Regions from separate parts of the Homo sapiens genome. Here region 1 is linked to region 2. The links are contacts of gene promoters, found by promoter capture Hi-C in human tissues and cell types (Jung and others, 2019). All regions are on one chromosome and are shown on one strand. Each heading gives the region's core, a stretch centred on a gene start or on the middle of the fragment in contact. The rest is flanking DNA. Distances are from core to core; before and after follow the strand shown.

Region 1 (4,650 bases), core at 24-2,523, 1.1 Mb before region 2:
AGAAGTTTCCAAAGATCTGAGCTAAAAGTTGGAGACTTCAGGTGGGTATACAGGCCCTGCTGGAAGCAGAGACATATCCACCAACACAAGTCTGTAAGAGCAGCACATGATTCGGAATGACTGGAACGAGACAAAAAAAAAAAAAGTGAGTAACAGCTATTTCCACCATCTTTTCTTGCCTCCGTAATGCATGAACGTCTTGGCTGATGCTCTCAAGGGCAAACACCAGGTTCTTATTAGGCTGTGCTCCCAAGTCATGGTCTGGTTCTAAGTGTGAAGATGAAACATGATCACATTGAAAATTTGAAATCACTGGTCATCACAGAGCTGGGAAAATTACTGTAAACCTCACAGGCAGGTTAAAACTGCCCCTGGAATGATTGGCCCCAGATGTGATGTGCAACTCAAAGATCTAGAAAAATGACAGGATAATCTACTCCTATCCCAATAGTTTGGTTTCAAAGTGAGGTTGTACTGACAACCTCAGCTGGCATCATGGACCATGAAGAAAGAGATGAAAATACAGGAGGGAAAATCCTGGGATTCTTTTTTTTTTTTTTTTTTTTTTTTAAATTTAGAGACAGGGTCTCACTCCATCACCCAGGCTGGAGTATAATGGAGCAGTCACAGCTCACTGCAGGCTCAAACTCCTGGGCTCAAGGTATCCATCCTTCAGGGGTTTCTTTTCTAGGGATGTTAATACATGTATACAAACAAAATGACTCAATGGGGGAAAAAAAGGGAATAATAGTTTATAGCCAGAATGTGAAGGCTTTTCAACAAGTCATATGAAAGAATCTGTATCTTATCCTAACTGTTGAAAGGGAACCCTTGAAAGATTAATAAGCTGATACATAAAAAAAAGATTGGCTCAATAGACACACAACTCTTGAAGTTACGTATGAAATAGGAAGTCAGAAAAATAAAGTTTATGTCTCACTACTGAGGTGAGACAAAGATGTTTACCTAAAGCACTGGGCAAGGATGTCAAGAGAGGCACAAGACAGAGACCTGCAGGTTGCCAAATTTAGCAAACAACAAAACCAAAAACAACAAAAAACAAGAAAGGATAAATCTGAGTTTTTTTTTAAGAAGAATTTTTTAGTGTGTCTTAGCAAGTCGTATCTGAGATACACTAGAAGTATACTAAAAAAGTATTCACTATTGATCTGAAATTCAAATTTAACTGAGTATCAGCCAATTATCTACAAATAAGATAATAAGATTTGAAGAACAGGGAAGGAAAATGTCTATGCATGAGGAAAGATTAAGACTAAATGAACTATCAAGGCCTGGTCAGCACAGCCAAGACATGTGCTTACCTGCATTGTGACTAGCCTGTCATCCACCATCACCTCCTTGGTCAGAAAGTCAGCTCCTATTGTGGCTTTGTACTGATTGCTGAATTTCTTATTCACATACTGGTTCATGAGTGATGTCTTCCCGACTCTGAAATTGGAGAAAAACCATAAGTATAAGTCAAATAGGAGGGTCCTGAAACTGACACGAATTACTTGAAGCATTTAAAAGAATCTGCCTGACCTGAAGGACAAGAAACTGCCCTCACAGCAAAGGGCAATGCCAGTAGCCTTCCGAGCATTACACTTTTGAAGTTTTGTGTTTTCTCTCTGGGTAAAAATATAGGGTACAGATGTGGGGCAGATGTGGAAAAGCTGCTTACATGTTTTGGCACAGCCAGGTCAAATGGTAGAGCCTAGTATTATTTTTTCCATTCTAGAAGGATGCCAGCAAATATACTGCTTTCTAAAAGAAGCTTCACTATTAAGACTGTTCTGCTATTCCAACAGTATCCCTGCTATCTTAGATGTTTCTCCATTTAGTGGCTGCTATTTAGCTTGATGAAGTAACACCAGGAGGAAGACCTTGGCTTTCAGCAGACACACACCACTCAGACAATTTGCTGCTTTAAAGTTTAAAATCTGAAGCAGAAAAAGCACCAATATATCACCAAAACAAATCCACCTCAAAGAATGCTCCTCCAAATATGTTTTCTAGTAAGAAAACTCAGCAAGAGACAATGTGTGATTTTTGTGTGATAAGGTTAAGGTAACCTAAAGCTAATACAAAAACCTTCCCCCCCATAGCCAGTGATATCACCTTTCTTGGCCACAAAGGAACATGTTCATATTTGTGTTAAAGAACCTGGAGGTACCTAGACAGCCGAAGGCAGTGTTTTCCAACCCAGACCATCTAAGCCAGAATCTACAAGGTGAGAGGTGGCAAAACCTGGAATCGAACAAGGGCTTGGTGAGACTTTTTGCACAAGTTTGGGGAAGGCAGGCCTAAAAGCACTATCTTTCCATCCCGACGGGGATGGAGTTGCGGGGTAGGAGAGAGAGCACAAATCTAGGCCCTAGCCCACTGGTCTGGGGCTGGGCAAATGCTAGCGAACAAAAGGTTCTTCAAAGGCTGGGCATGGTGGCTCAAGCCTGTAATCTCAGCACTTTGGGAGGTCGAGACGAGTGGACTGCTTGAGCCCAGGAGTTTGAGACCAGCCTGGGCAACATGGTAGAACCCTGTCTCTATAAAAAATACAAAAATTTAACCAGGAGTGGTAGCACACACTGGTGGTCCCAGCTACTCTGGAGGCTGAGGTGGGAGGATGGCTTAAGACCAGGAGGTTGAGGCTGCAGTGAGCTGTGATTGCACCATTCACTTTAGTCTGGGCAACAGAGCGAGACCCTGTCTCTCACACACATACAAAAAAAGGTTCTGCAGGTGATTCAAATAAGCCAGTCAAGACAGAAAAACCTCTGGCTTTTCAAAGGAAGGGCAGGGGACTTTGGAATAAAGAAGCATACCTGCATTTGCTATTGTTGTTATTTTTAAAAATACATAAGCTTCCAATGAGTCAAAGCTTTCATGGGTCCCTTCAGATGCCAAGTCTGAAAAGCCTACCACAGAATCTTTTTATTTTAAGAGTTGGGGTCTTGCTCTGTCACTCGGGCTGCAGTGCAACGGCATGATCATAGCTTGCTACAGCCTCAAACTCCTGGGCTCAAGCCATCCTCTCGCCTCGGCCTCCCCAGCAGCTGGAACTACAGGTACGGCACCTGGCTAAATTTTTTTTGTAGAGACAGGTCTCCAACTCCTGGGCTCAAGCAATCCTCCCCTCAGCCTCCAAAGCACTGGGATTATGGGCATAAGCCACCTCACCCAACCTACCACAGAATCTTAAGAGCCATTAGAGTTAGCTACATGGTTAGTGGCACATCTAGAATCAGAACCCAGTTCTGCCGTCCCAGGCTCTTTTGCAGATAGATCTGAAGCAGGCACAGCAGCAGGAGGATACTGTATGGTGCACTAAGAACGCACATCTGGGTCGGGCGCGGTGGCTCACGCCTGTAATCCCAGCACTTTGGGAGGCCGAGGCAGGCGGATCACGAGGTCAGGAGATCAAGACCATCCTGGCTAACACGGTGAAACCCCATCTCTACCAAAAATACAAAAAACTAGCCGGGCGTGGTGGCGGGCGCCTGTAGTCCCAGCTCCTCGGGAGGCTGAGGCAGGAGAATGGCGTGAATCCGGGAGGCGGAGCTTGCAGTGAGCCGAGATCGCGCCACTGCACTCCAGCCTGGGCGACAGAGCGAGACTCTGTCTCCAAAAAAAAAAAAAAAAAGCACATCTGCTACGCCAGATGCCAATGGCAATACATCTACGTAAGGAAGACTCCCCAGCCTGGCCAGCTTGGAGAAAAGGGATTCCATGAAAATGCCTATCCTTAGTTGAGTTCAAATAGCCATCCGTTCCCCATAAAAAATCATGCTAAAAACTAGAGAACAAAAGGTTATATAACAAGGGATCATCTAAATTTCTGCCGTGGAGGGAAACATGTAAGGCCCTAAGCCTCACTATGAAAGCAAGAAGTGGCAGCACGGACAGTGTGGGCTCCACAGCAGAGAGGCTTAGCTCTAAGCCAATCTGTTAGCTCAAATTCATGAGTAACTTACCCAGAATCTCCCAGGATGATAACCTTCAGCAACACTTTCTTCCTAGAGGTCATCCTTCAAACTAAAGGGGGAAAAGGAGAAATCACTGTGAGTGTGATGGAAACACCAAAACAAAACACCTCCCTTGCACAAATGTCTGAGCAGCCCCAACAGTGCAGGGCCCTGAACCTTCCTGCTAGGTATCTTCCTTCCACCAGGGGGCACTGATAAAAAACAGTATCACTCACCAAAACTCTGGACCCAAGAGCGAGGCAGAACAGCACAGCAGGGCCATCCTGCCCCTGCAAGCTGTTGGAGAGAATGTATTCTCTCACTTGGGTGGTGGATCAATTGAATGGATTGGCAATTTGAACTAATGCTCCAACTTACTCAACAGCTTGGTCCTTGCTTCATTCAGGTCGCTGCTTCAGTATCACTTTCTCAAAGAAGTGACCGCTTTATTTAAAGCAGCATAACCCCTCATTTGCTCTCTATCCCGTTACTCTGCTTGCTTTTCCTTCAGAGCACTTACCACTAATTGACATTTTTATGTACTATATTAATCTAGTCTATCCCTTTTCTAACAATCTCCATGAAGACAGTTTTACTCCCCACTGTATACTCAATGCCAAGTAGAAATTTATTAAATGTTGGGTACCGTCTGAATACTTGACTCTGCAGCTCTAGTGACTACTCTTTT
Region 2 (4,250 bases), core at 15-2,514:
AGGATGTGGAGGTGGGGTCGAACAGGCAGACACTGTGTGCTATCAGTGCTGGGGGACGATGGGCTACAGGGACAGAAGCCAGAGCCAGTGCCGAGGCTGGACCTTTGGCCTTTCAGCGTTTGGGAGAGGAGGTGATGGAGCCTTCACTCCCACCAGAGCTCTCTACTGCAGGAAGAAGCTGGCCCTGTTAGAAGCAGGGAGCCCGGGAAAAAGCTGCTGCAGGCCTCCTGATGGTGTGGAGGGCACACAATTCTAGGAGGCAGGAGTCGCGGGATACAGCAACTGATGGGATGCGGAAGGTGAGCGAGGGGAGTCGCCAATGCTAATGCAGCCCCACTGAGGCGGGGGCAGCCCAAAGGAGGCCTCCAGGCTGCACCTGGAAGTGCTGTGAACCCACTCAGCGTTGACACTATGCACTAACTCTTGAGTGGCACGGGATGTCAGGGAGCGGCCCAGGGAGGCTACGGGAGTACAGCAGCCCGGCGCCAGCCCAGGGGAGGTGGAAGCAGTCAGTCAGCACCAGGTCAAGGGGGAGGAAGGGCCAAGAAAAAAGGAGGTCAAACGGGATAGTGGAAGCCCAAGGAGGGGAAGGGCCCCAGAACCCAACTGGGCACCCCTTCCCTCCGCGTCCGGCCCATGGAGGGGGCATCTCAGCGCCAGATTCACTTTAGCTGCGTCAGGAGTTTCCGAATCCTCAGGGACCGGAGGCCGATTATGGGCTCTAGGTGTTCCCCGCGCCAGGTCCAGAGAGCACGAGAGAAAGGGGCCACGTCTGGAGTCCCAGGCCTATACCCGCGCCCTGCGCCCGGGGGGTCTGACGTCCGGGCCCTACCAGGGCGAACAGTGGCCCGCCTTCTCTCCGCCCACTTCTGCGCCTTCGGGCCTCCGCTGAGCAGTCCCTTCTTACAGGAAGCCCTCCGGGGGTCAATGGCCATCAGTGTCCCCGCCCCAGCGCGCTTCCGCTGGGGGGCTGCGGCGGGGGTCCGGGTGGTCTGCCCCGCGGGGGCGCTCCGAGGGCTGTGACCCGGCAGAGGCGCCCGCCTCTCCGCGGCCGCCCAGCCGCCCGTCCCAGGGCCCGAGGCGTTCCGAGGGCGGCCACCTCCCGCACCCTCCCCGGGACTGCGAGGTCCTCACCGCACTCGGCCCACATCCCCCTTCCTGCAGCTGGCGAACAGGTCGCTGGTGTCCATGGCGCGGAGGATGGTACCCGAGCCGAACGACCTCGGGCGGCGAAGCCGCGCACCCGGCGGATGTAAACACGCTCAGCCCCGCCCCGCCCCGCTCTGCAGCGGCGTCCGGAGGACCCGCCCGCCCCGGCCTCCCCGCCCCGCGGCCCCGCCCCTGCCCCGGGGTGCCCCGCCCGCCCCGCCCCGCCCCAACCCCGGAAATAAGAATGAGTCAAGAAGGCAGACGCGCTGGGCCCGGCGTGGTCTCCGGGCGGGTTTAATTGAGTCCCGGGGCGCAGGAAGCGCCGCCCGCCGCCCGCGGGGCCGGGGTTCAGGGGCGGGAAAGCGGGGCCAAGGCGGGCTTTGAGGCCTGCCCCTCGGGCGGGAGTGAGGGAGTTGGTCCGAAGCCGCCGTGTGAAGTCGGGGGAAGCGGGAAGGAGCCCGCGCCGAGGGCCAGGCCGCGGGGGCGGCCCGGGTAGGCGCGGGGCTGGTGCGGGCTCCGGGCCGTCCGTTTCGGGGTCCACCTCGCTTGGTCCTGGCGGCCCACTCGGCCTGCGCCTCGGCTGCGCTCACAGGTGCGTGTCCTCCTCGAACACGTCCGAGTCCTCGGGGTCCCGCTTGCCCCCCATGAGCGCCCCCCAGCTCCCCGGGCCGTTGAGGGCCCCGCCGCCGTTCAGGCTGGGGTGCTTCTCCTGCATCTCCGACTGGCTGTCGCTGGCCACGTCCAGCGTGGGGTTGTCGTGGCAGCCGTTCTCCACGAAGCGCAGCTCCTCGCCGTGCGACTGAGGCGGGGTGGGGAGAGGCCATGGGCGAGCGAGCCAGCCCCCGGACAGCGCCAGGCCCGCGGCCGTCTGTGCAACCCCACCCAGGGGGTTCCCGCGGCACCCTCCACAGGTGCCAGATCCTTCTTTTCTGTTGCTGCAGCTCAACTCCTTTCTCAAAATAAACCTACTAGTCGTTGGCACTACAAAGCCCCGTGGCCTCCCTGACGTCATCGATCCCCCAACAGCCCCCTAAGAAGACTCCACTTGCGAGGTGGGCAGGGAGCATCGCTAGGGCTCTGCTCGCTTCCTCCTGGGGAGGCCTCTAGGCTGCTGGAGCCTCTCCTTGATCCTTGGGCACCACCAACGCAGGGCCTGCCTCTGGTGAGGTATTCAGGTGCTCAGGCCCTGCAGTGCCTGCGCCGGAAAGGGGCTGGTGGTGCCAGGGAGGGGCCCCCTGGTGGGGCTAGCAGCCCCCTCACTCCCTGCACCTCTGGCACCTGTCCTGGGGCTGGTGCCCTGCAGAGCAGTCAGCAGTGCTAGGCTGACCAGCTGCTTCACCCACGGGACCCTGTGCGCCCAGGAGAGTCACTGCCTCCCCTTGCAGATGAGGACACCTATCGATGGGCACTCTCCTCTCAACTGGCCCCCAGCCCCACCTGTCCCCACACTCACCACGTGCTTGAGCTTGGGCAGCCGGCGCTGCCAGCAGTTGTAGAGCAGGCCAAGCGCAATGATGATGATGCAGATGGCCCCAATGACCACCAGCACCACGAAGAGCGTGCCGTAGTCGCTGCGCACCTGGCTGGCCCGCGCCTGGCAGCTGCTGGTTGTGGAATAGTTCTGGATGCCAATCTAGGGGTGGGAGGGGCCAGTTTCCTCAGCTGAGGTCCTGGGGTGCCATGGCTCCTCTGGGGTGGTTGCATTGGGCTCGGGTGGGGATGGGGGAGCAGGCTTAGAAGGTGCTGGCACTCCCGGCTCCTGAAGTTCCCTGGCGCCTGGGCTTGCCTCTACCCCATGCCCATCCCGTTTGCCTCAGTACACCTGGAGGCCTCTCCACCCCATGCCCATGTTCCCAGCCTCCTTCACATCCCACCATAGCTTCTGCCCCAGCCGCTGAGTCTGAGCTCACTGTGGCCCTAGGCCTCCAGTGAGAGTGGACCCATGCTGCTGGACACCATCCAACTAGAGAGAGTGCCCACACCTATCCTAACTAGTTAGAGAGACAGGAGATGTGAGCCCCCCACACATCCTCCACCATACAACCGCTTCCACCTCGGTGGGGAGGGGTGGACCAGTCAGCTTCCTGATGCCAGGGCCGGTGCAGGGAGGGATACTGAGGGCATGCAGGCCACATGGGGGGCCACCCCGGCTGCCCAGCTTCCTCCCTTCCCATGGCGTGTTCACTGCTGGCATGTAGCTGCCTGCATCCCTCCACGCTGCAGGTTGTCATGGTCAGTCCTGCCTTCTCTGGCCAAGGAGATCGGCGCCAGGGGCCAGGCAGGTGCTATCTCCACAGATCAGCATCTTAGCAGAGAGAAGCAGGAGGGCGAGCACCACCAGGGGCTCCTCAGGTGAGGGATCAGGGCAGTTCCCAGTGCTGAGGCCTAGGTTGCACCAGGCCCCCTTTCTGAGTTCAGGTTGCAGCTCTTCCCCGGTTTCTGTGAACCACCCGTGTATCTCCAGTACTTTTCTCAATTTTTTGTTATCAAGGGTCAGTTTTTCTTGCTAGATTCACCTGAGTATATTTCCAAAGACCCAGCATGACTTTTGGCCAAGTCAGTGTGAATTAAGTGACCAGTAACGCCAGAATACTCAGGGGCAGCGAAAAGCAGGGGGAGGACTGTATAAAAGGTCAAGGTTAGCCCACACTTCCACCAGCAGCCCCACTGTTCATGGACCCACGATTCCAGAACTGGGAAGGGCCTCAGTGGCCCTCCAGGCAGTAGAGCAGTGTGGTGAAAGGCCCGGGCTCCGGAATCAGGCTTCCTGCAAAGCCTGGCTCTACCGCTTACTGCTGGTGCCATCTCAGACAGGTCACCTAACCTCTCCCGCTTCAGCTCTCATCTTCCATGGGGACACCATTGGTACTCAACAGGTGCCTCACTTAACCCTCACAACCCCATGGGGTGGTGGCGAGGACTGAGGGAGAGAGCCTTGCACAGTGTGGTGCTCAGTGGGCATTCGACATGCTCACCAGAAAAGCACCACCACCAGGGCCTCTGCTCCCCTGGCATGCAAGGATGAAGAGGCGGCCAGCATTATACCACTCATCTCTCCTGCCAAAAATGGCAGCACCTTCGGGAGTGGAGAGGGCTGATGA

What was found. Contacts are between HindIII fragments. The study calls those that stand out against the background at their distance.
Region 1: a contact is called between a fragment that was not itself captured here and the fragment with the promoter of ABTB1 in region 2, in 1 of the 25 tissues and cell types used here (spleen).

The regions. Positions count from the first base shown.
Region 1 is chr3:128,794,742-128,799,391 of GRCh38, reverse strand. RAB7A (RAB7A, member RAS oncogene family) reads right to left here. Exons shown (of 6, transcript NM_004637.6): 2 at 3,972-4,032; 3 at 1,323-1,449. The coding sequence starts at 4,024. It also overlaps the pseudogene RPS15AP16. Among named protein-coding and RNA genes, the nearest start is that of MIR12124, 50 kb to the left of the region's middle. The HindIII fragment of the contact is 3,194 bases long and covers 1-2,870 here.
Region 2 is chr3:127,669,966-127,674,215 of GRCh38, reverse strand. It overlaps ABTB1 (ankyrin repeat and BTB domain containing 1), which reads right to left and starts at 1,264. Exons shown (of 12, transcript NM_172027.3): 1 at 1,135-1,264. The coding sequence starts at 1,190. PODXL2 (podocalyxin like 2) reads right to left here. Exons shown (of 8, transcript NM_015720.4): 7 at 2,603-2,782; 8 at 1,414-1,948. The coding sequence ends at 1,736. RefSeq lists silencers at 893-1,152, 1,293-1,892, 1,903-1,982. The HindIII fragment of the contact is 16,115 bases long and covers 1-4,250 here.